Regions from separate parts of the Homo sapiens genome. Here regions 1 and 3 are each linked to region 2. Evidence: promoter capture Hi-C in human tissues and cell types (Jung and others, 2019). All regions are on one chromosome and are shown on one strand. The core of a region is centred on a gene start or on the middle of the fragment in contact, and the rest is flanking DNA. Distances in the headings are between cores, read along the strand shown. Region 1 holds the start of LOC124904162 (a long non-coding RNA gene). Region 2 holds the start of CLDN19 (claudin 19). Region 3 overlaps CCDC30 (coiled-coil domain containing 30).

Region 1 (2,700 bases), core at 143-2,642, 66 kb after region 2:
TACTATCTCATTTATTTGCCCTTCACAACTCCATGCATTATATATTATCTAATTATGCAAAGGAGTAGGGTCCCAAGGGGTTTCATGGCTTGACTGAAGTCACAGAATTAGACAGTGATGAGACTTCCTGGTCTACTTGGCTCCAAAGCCTTTGTCCTTTTTGTCAGACTCTGATGGCTCTCTGTGGAGGTCCAGAACAAAAAGCAATCCTTCTTCCTTGCAGGTTTCGGTCCCAGAGGTAAAGAGAAAGGGAAGTCCACACTCTGGGTTTATGGCCTTGAAGTCGAGCAAGCTATACTAAGAGAACAGAGTAAGTACACCCAGATACTATTGTCCCCCTCCTCTTGCCATTCCTCAAACATGCCACACCTTGCTCCAGTGGACAATGGGTACTGGCATCGTACTGCAGGCACAGACTGAAGTTTAACTGTGGGCCCTCAAGCAAAGTGTATGAAAATGTATAAATGTACTTTGTAAGCTGCATGGTGTGCCAGGACCTAAGCTCTGTCATACCAGGCACTATGTTAGTCAGCATGATCCTTGCTTCAACAAGTTCTCAGTCCAGAGAAAAACAGACTTACATATTTGTGATACAGTATATTAAATGCCACAGTGGAGAGATGAACCAAGTGCTGTGGGAGCACCCACTGTCTGGGCTTAGACCTGGAAGAGGAGGTGGAGGGATCAGCAATGGATTCACACCTGATGTTAGCCACAGCTGTGGGCAGGCTCCTGGGAAGTGCTGGGAGGATTTAGGATTAGTTAACACTACATATAAACAGTATGTATTTCTATTACAAGATACATGTTCAAGGTAGAAAATTCAAGCTTAAATAAGGCAACTGAAAAGTCTCTTTGCTATCTCTACTCTGCAGAAGTATTATCCACAGTCTGCTATATATCACTGCAGAGATTCCTGAAAGTCATTCAAAATAAACAGTAACATGCTTACATAAATTACTACATCTTGACTGTCACTTAACTTACCTTAGAAATCTTGCCAACACATCCAGATCTACCTCTTTATTTTGTTAAGGCTGTATAGTATTCCACTGAAGAGAATGGAACCTCTACGTGTGTAAGACTTGGCTGCAATGCAAGCAGCTTTGCCTTTGTACTGGACTGGAATGGACTGGAGCCAGACATTCTCTCCACTCCTGGCCTTTTCAGCTGGCAGAGCTTCTGAGTTTCAGGACAGGGAACATACAGTGTCACATGCCCAGCAGGCACATAAATATTTGCTGCCAAATCTCCAGTGTTCCCCAGACCCATATTTTCATGTAAAACCTCTTTTCTCTTGCCTGGACTACTACTGCAGTAGACTCCTCACTGGCCTCCAGCCCATCCTCCACAATGCTGCTAGAATCATCTTCTGAACATGAAAATTCATCTACAGTATTCTGCTGAAAATCCTTAAGTGGTTCATATTGGCCTGATTCTTTTTTGGAGGGTCAGTGCCCCTTTTGAGAATCTCAGGAGCACAGTGGACTCCTTCCCCAAAAGGGAAAAATTACTTCATGCCTGAAAGTCAGCCTCTGCCCTCAGAATAACATATGAACTGCTAAACTTGGCACTGGCTTTCACTACTGGCCCTGGCCTCTCTCCAACCTTCTCACCATTTGCTTTTCATATCTTCCTGCTTCAGTCATATTGAATTATTTGCAGCTTCCTCTACACTTCCTGCTGTTTCCTGCCTTTGTGACTTTGCATAGGCTGTTCCCTCTGCCTGGAATGCCCTGCCCAGTTTTAGCCACCTGACAAGTTATATTCTTTCTTGTACTAAACTGAAGCATCATCTCTTCTGTAGTCTACTCAACCACTCTGGGAAGATCCGGGCATTTATGCTTTCCTCACCTTGTTCTAAAACCTCCAATACAGGGCTTTATTGTACTGTAATTGTCAGTTCTCCCAAGAGACTGAGTTCCTTGAAGGATGGAACTGACTTTTCAAATCTGTAGCCTCATATGCAGCATGGGAACTATCTTAATTCATCAGCGCTTAGTTGTGGAATGAATAGAGGACCAGCCCAACTGCCACCAACACATATTTCCTAATCTTCCCCTACGGGAATGTCTCGCATCTATAGGTAATTCTAGAATGAAACACAGTGTTTCCTAAACCTTAGTCATTCAAATAGCATCTTCACAACTGTTACAATATCTATCATCCACAGGTACAATTTATTTTTTAAGCTAATCACTATTTGAACTTCAATATTGCCTCACTATAAGCTGTAATAACTGTAAAATGATGTATTGTGCTAATTCCGTATTTTTTCCTAAGATCCAAATATTAAAATAAAAGACAGTCATCCCACCACTAACTAAAGTAGTGTTTCCCACACTTCTCTATTAAGAAGCATGTGAGATACTTGTTACAAACATAACATCCTGGTCCCACCCCAAAGCCACTCAATCAAATACTCCAGGGAAGGGATCTAGGAATTCGTAGGTTTAACGAGTGCCCCAAAATGATTATTACCTGTTGGAGAATCTAGGCAACAATGAATTAAGGAAAGCTCTCTACCATTTGGTACTGGTACCAGGTTTGAGGATCACAGGGAAGAGGGTAAGCATATCAGACTAGCAGAGCTGCCAGAACTCGGGCTTTCAAAAGAGAGGTGCCACCCTCTCCCATGTCCATGTAAGTAGCAAACAACCCATTCAGACTACAGCAGGAGAATCCTGAGTGTAGAGGTTC
Region 2 (2,700 bases), core at 133-2,632:
CTGACCCTCCCAGCACAGAGAGCCTGAGGGTCCCAGTGTGCACCACCACAGGTCAAGCAGTGCCCACCCTTGACCCTCAGATGGCAGACCACTCCCCCATCTCTGGCCAGAGCTGCAGGCCATACCAGAGGCCTACGCCCTGGGCGGGCACACAGGGCTGCCATTGTCTGCTCAGCGCCTGGCACCCTCTCGTTTGCATAGCCACGTGAAGAATGCAAGAGCGGGCTGGGGACTTGTCCCTTCAGAGGGGGGTTGGGGCTGTGGGGGAGGAAGCCAGCAGGGGTCTGCAGCAGGACCCTGCCTTCCCCCAGTGCAGTCCAGGAAGGGTGGGTGGGCTGTTGGGGACGGAGGGGGCGGCGGGGGGCTGGCAGGAGTGGAAGCAGGGTTGTGACATTCCTTCTGCACCCACGCTGCAGTGGGGCCCACTTGAACGTGAGGGGATTGCTAATGAGGTGGAAGAGAGTTAAACATTCCCCTACTCCTGAAGACCAAGAGAGACTGGGAGAGAGAAGAGGGAGGTGGGGGTGCTCGGAGCGGGCAGCCTGAACCCCGGGAATGTGCAGAGGCCACTGCTCCGCGCCAGGCTGCTCTAGAGTTGGGGGCCAGGGCCCAGTGTTCCAGTCCCAGCAGGAGCTACTAAGCCAGCCAGCAAGGGGATTAAGGGGCTGAGCAATCCGCCTTCCTTCAGGCTGATGCCAGAAGGTTGGGGCTGTCTCCCCAGCTCCCCACCAGGCCCCTTGCTGGCCGGCAGCCAGCGCTGGCCCAGCCTCGATAGGGCCCCTTTTCTGTCCCCCTCAGATCTCAAAAAGACCCCACAGTACATATTTCCTGGTCTGGCCTCCCTGATTTTTGGCACACACAGCTCCCAGGTACCCATGACCCCTCTTCCCAACACCCCACCGCTAGCTCAGCCTCCCCACATCCAGCTTCAGAGCCCCTGCCAAAAAGTTATCCTTGACATCTAACTCTAGTTTTACCCGCTGCAAACTGGCATTCCTTTCCCTTCTGTCCTAAAGTCAAAGGGCAGAAAACCCCAAGGGTTAGATCAGCCTTGCAAGAGCAAAGTCCATCCTCCCAGGGCTGGTGTTTGGGTTAGGGATTATCCGAATTTTAGGACACCCGAATCAGGTTCCTAAAGGGGTTTCCCTGTGGGGAAAGGCCCAGAGGGCAGCTGGGTCATTCCTCTCAGCCCCTCCCTTCCCTATCCCTGCGGAACGGGGCGGGGCAGGGACACCACCTGGGCCATGGGCCGGCCCTCCGCCCCCAGGGGGCTGGGCATGAGCTTTGCTGGGGACCCTGCTCTGGCTTAGGCGGCTGCTGTGGGCGGGCCCTGGCCTTTTCCAGCCCCTGGGCCTCCCCCTGCATTCTGGAGTCCAGAGCCACTGCCTTTGCTCCAGCCGCTGCCGCCGCACCACCTCTCCTTCTCTGCCTCTGACCCTCCTTCTCGCTGCTCCCCCTGCCCAGCTGCTCCTCCCACCTGGCCATGACCAAAGCCCCTGCTGGCACCCTGGCCCAGCTCTGAGTCCTGGGACCCTCGGTCCTCTCTCCTGGGCCATGGCCAACTCAGGCCTCCAGCTCCTGGGCTACTTCTTGGCCCTGGGTGGCTGGGTGGGCATCATTGCTAGCACAGCCCTGCCACAGTGGAAGCAGTCTTCCTACGCAGGCGACGCCATCATCACTGCCGTGGGCCTCTATGAAGGGCTCTGGATGTCCTGCGCCTCCCAGAGCACTGGGCAAGTGCAGTGCAAGCTCTACGACTCGCTGCTCGCCCTGGACGGTAGGCCCCAGGCCGGCGGGGTGGGAGATGGGAGGTGGGAACAGCAGGGGAGTCTGGAGCAAGTTTTCCTCACAGTCTGCTATCTGCGCTGGGCTCCAACCTCCAGCCTCCGCTCTACAATTCCCCCACTACTGCCCTGTGCCCATTGACGGTCCAGGCCAGCCTGCTGCCCTGTGGGAGGGGAGGGCTCTAGGGTCTGGCGGCTGTGGGTCCAGATTCCTGCTCTGTCACTATAACTTTGAACTAGTCACCAAACCTCTTCCCATTGTGATGTTCTCATCTCTAAAGGGGAATACTAATACCTGTGGCACTCTGAAAGACTCAGTTAAGACCCTTCATCCACTTCTCCCCACAGTCAGTAGACAGACACACACTGTATGATGCACACCTGCTCCCTAGTCCTGCTCCCAGGCCTGTGTGCCAGCATATGGGTGCATGCACATGCATGCAAACACGCATGCACACGCACACACGTGCACATGCATGCACAGACAGGTGTGTCTGCATGCAGTCCCTCTCCTTCTGGGGTGTGGAGATGAGCCTGACAGGCACCGCCGAAGTTCTAACTCTGGGGTGGAGGTGATCCACCTGCAATCTGCCCAGGAGCCCCCAGGGACAATCTGCTCCCCATGGGAGCTGGGAGCAGAGCGGCCTTCAACCAGCCCCATTGTGCCAGTTCAGGCAGGTCAGTTCAGGCAGGTCATCTAGCCTCGCTGAGGGACCCAGGTCTCCTGAGCACCCCCCAGGGCCCAGGATGGACCCATGCACCCGTGAAGAGGCAAGCTTCCAGCTGCCATGGGCAGAGGGGAAAGTGACTGTTGTCTGAATGGCTGCTGGGGAGGGGTTGCTGCGGGGCTCAGGCTGAGTTGAGCTGGGCCTCAGATACCCCCAGCTCTTCCACCTACCAAACCTGAGGGGACCCT
Region 3 (2,700 bases), core at 35-2,534, 100 kb after region 2:
TGGGGTGCAGTGGTACAATCATGGCTCACTGTAACCTCACACTCCTGGGCTCAAGTGATCATGTGCCTCAGCCTCCTGAGTAGCTAGGACTACAGGCATGAACCACCACAGCTGGCTAATTTTTAAATTTTTTGTAGAGTCAGATGCCTGGTGCCATGGCTCACACCTGTAATCTCAGCACTCTGGGAGGCCAAAGTGGGAGGATTGCTTGAGCCCAGGAGTTTGAGACCAGCCTGGTCAACATGGTGAGACCCCGTCTCCACACACACACACACACACACACACACACACACACACACACACACAAAAGCCATGTGTGGAGTTCAAGGCTGCAATGAGCTAGGATCACACCACTGCACTCTAGCCTGGGTGACAGAATGAGACTCTGTCTCAAAAAAATTTTTTTAAGATAAAAAATAAAATAAAATAGTAGAAACAGGGTCTTGCTCTGTTGCTCAGGCTGGTCTCAAACTCCTGGCCTCGAACTATCCTCCTGCTTCAGCCTCCCAAAGGACTGGGATTACAGGCATGAGACACTGTGCCCAACCTACATGTTTCTTTTAAATAAGATACTAATGTAGGTCATTCAGAAAAGACTGGCCATCTATTATTATTATTAATTTTTTTTTTAGATAAAGTTTTGTCTTTCACCCAGGCTGGAGTGCAGTGGTGCAATCTCGGCTCACTGCAACCTCTGCCCGCTGGGTTCAAGCAATTCTCCTGCCTCAGCCTCCTGAGTAGCTGACATTATAGGTGCCCACCACCGCACCCAGCTAATTTTTGTACTTTTAGTAGAAATGGGGTTTTGCCATGTTGGTCAGGCTGGTCTCAAACTCCTGACCTCAGATGATGCACCCACCTCGGCCTCCCAAAGTGCTAGAATTACAGGCATGAGCCACCATGCCTGGCCATCCATCTATTATTAAAGACCTGTAGGATGTTGATTAGATTATGTTCCGAAAAAGCTATTCCAGATTTTAAAGTCCATCTCAGGGACCCGGCAATATCTAATGGTAGTCTGACCTGCTATAATTTAAAGACATTTAATTAATAATGTATTGGTAAGGATTGAGAATAGAAGCAATCATCCCACAGATAAACCCTAGACAGCTCTAACTGGATTAAAAAGTGTACTGCATGAGGAAGGTGACTGACACCTTGTCCTTGGGAAATACTGTATTTTTTAAAACAAACAAAAATTCCAGACACATGCTGTGATAATAGGATAAAATGGGAAAGTCTGGTTTGAGTGGTCACAACAGAAGTCTCAATTGACTCATTATATAAAGAAAAAGCTGAAGGAATGAAGCCAAAAGAAGTGGCATTACTTTTTGGAGACTTAGAAAGAAATCTGGCATTTTTATGCTCAGTGCTCTGGTCCTTGGGCCCTAAAATATACATAAAATAAGAATTCCTAGGTTTGTACCACTGTGGCATTAAAAGCTCTAACATCAGTCTTCTCTAGGCTAAGTCGTTCTAATTCTGTCAACAATTTCTCATGTGAACAATGAATCCACCAATTAACATTCTTCTAAGATTTTTTTTTTTTTTTTTTGAGACGAAGTTTCACTCTTTTCACCTAAGCTGGAGTGCAATGGTGCAATCTTGGCTCACTGCAACTTCTATCTCCCTGGTTCAAGCAATTCTCCTGCCTCAGCCTCCCAAGTAGCTGGGATTACAGGGATGAGCCACCACACCTGGCCCTTCTAAGAGATTATATACCAAAAAAAGGAAAATAACATCTATGAAAAATGTGTATGTACCAAGTACCACTTTAGAAATTGTATGTTTTAATACTCACAAAAGCCTTGTGTATGTAAGGTAGGGATTATTTCCCTCATTTTACAGATGAGGAAAGTGATACACAGAGACTTGTCCAAGCTTACAGGCAGGGCTAGAATTTGAATCCAAGTCTATTTAAGGCCAAAGCCCACAGTACCCTTCAATGGCAGTGAGCAAAAGATCCAATTATTCTCTCAGCCTCTGCTTATTTGGGAGCTCCAGCACATTTTATGAAGACCTGTGGTTCTTTGGGTAGGTGCATTAGTTTCCTAGGGCTGCCATAACATTTTCTCATAGTTTTGAGTGACAGAAATCTGAAATCACATTGTTGTCAGGGTTAATTACTCATGGGGGCTCCAGGAGAGATTGTGTTGCATGCCTTTCTCCTAGCTTCTGGTGGTTGCCAGCAACCCTTGCTATTTCTTGGCTTGTAGCTGTATCATTCCAGTCTCTGAATTCATCATCATGAGGCATTCTTCCCCTGTCTGTGTCTGTCTGTGTGTTTTCCCCTCTTCCTATAAGGACAGCAATCATCTTAGATTTATGATTCACCCTAATCCAGGATAATCTCACTTAACTAATTGTATCTGCAAAGACCCTATTTCTATATAAGGTCACATTCTAAGGTTCTAGGACATGAATTTGAGGGACGCTATTCAACCCAGTGTAGTCAGGAAGAAAGCTAGCATGCCTGTTGAAAGCAGAAGACTGTTTTTCTGGCCTAGAAGCAAAATGCAAAAGTATGAAAAAGAACTGATAATATAGAAATAGGCTGATGATATGTCTGATGGACCCATGAACTAGGGTTGCTACTTTTTTTTTTCCTTTCTTTCTCTTACTCTTTATTTATTTATTTATTTATTTAGATGGAGTTTTGCTCTTGTCCCCCAGGCTAGAGTGCAATGGCATGATCTCAGC

What was found. The method cuts DNA at HindIII sites, captures the fragments that hold promoters and counts their contacts. A contact is called where the count stands out against the background at its distance.
Region 1: a contact is called between a fragment that was not itself captured here and the fragment with the promoter of CLDN19 in region 2, in 12 of the 25 tissues and cell types used here (H1 embryonic stem cells, IMR-90 fibroblasts, adrenal gland and 9 more).
Region 3: a contact is called between a fragment that was not itself captured here and the fragment with the promoter of CLDN19 in region 2, in 3 of the 25 tissues and cell types used here (mesendoderm cells, pancreas and spleen).

Annotation. Positions count from the first base shown.
Region 1 is chr1:42,673,330-42,676,029 of GRCh38, reverse strand. All of the region lies in intron 9 of PPIH (peptidylprolyl isomerase H), which reads right to left. It overlaps LOC124904162 (a long non-coding RNA gene), which reads left to right and starts at 235. Exons shown (of 2, transcript XR_007066034.1): 1 at 235-310. The HindIII fragment of the contact is 8,469 bases long and covers 1-2,700 here.
Region 2 is chr1:42,738,918-42,741,617 of GRCh38, reverse strand. It overlaps CLDN19 (claudin 19), which reads left to right and starts at 1,382. Exons shown (of 5, transcript NM_148960.3): 1 at 1,382-1,777. The coding sequence starts at 1,555. RefSeq lists an enhancer at 1-25. The HindIII fragment of the contact is 9,679 bases long and covers 1-2,700 here.
Region 3 is chr1:42,638,822-42,641,521 of GRCh38, reverse strand. The region is part of intron 16 of CCDC30 (coiled-coil domain containing 30); the gene reads right to left. The region is part of intron 1 of LOC124904162 (a long non-coding RNA gene); the gene reads left to right. Among named protein-coding and RNA genes, the nearest start is that of PPIH, 18 kb to the left of the region's middle. The HindIII fragment of the contact is 8,684 bases long and covers 1-2,700 here.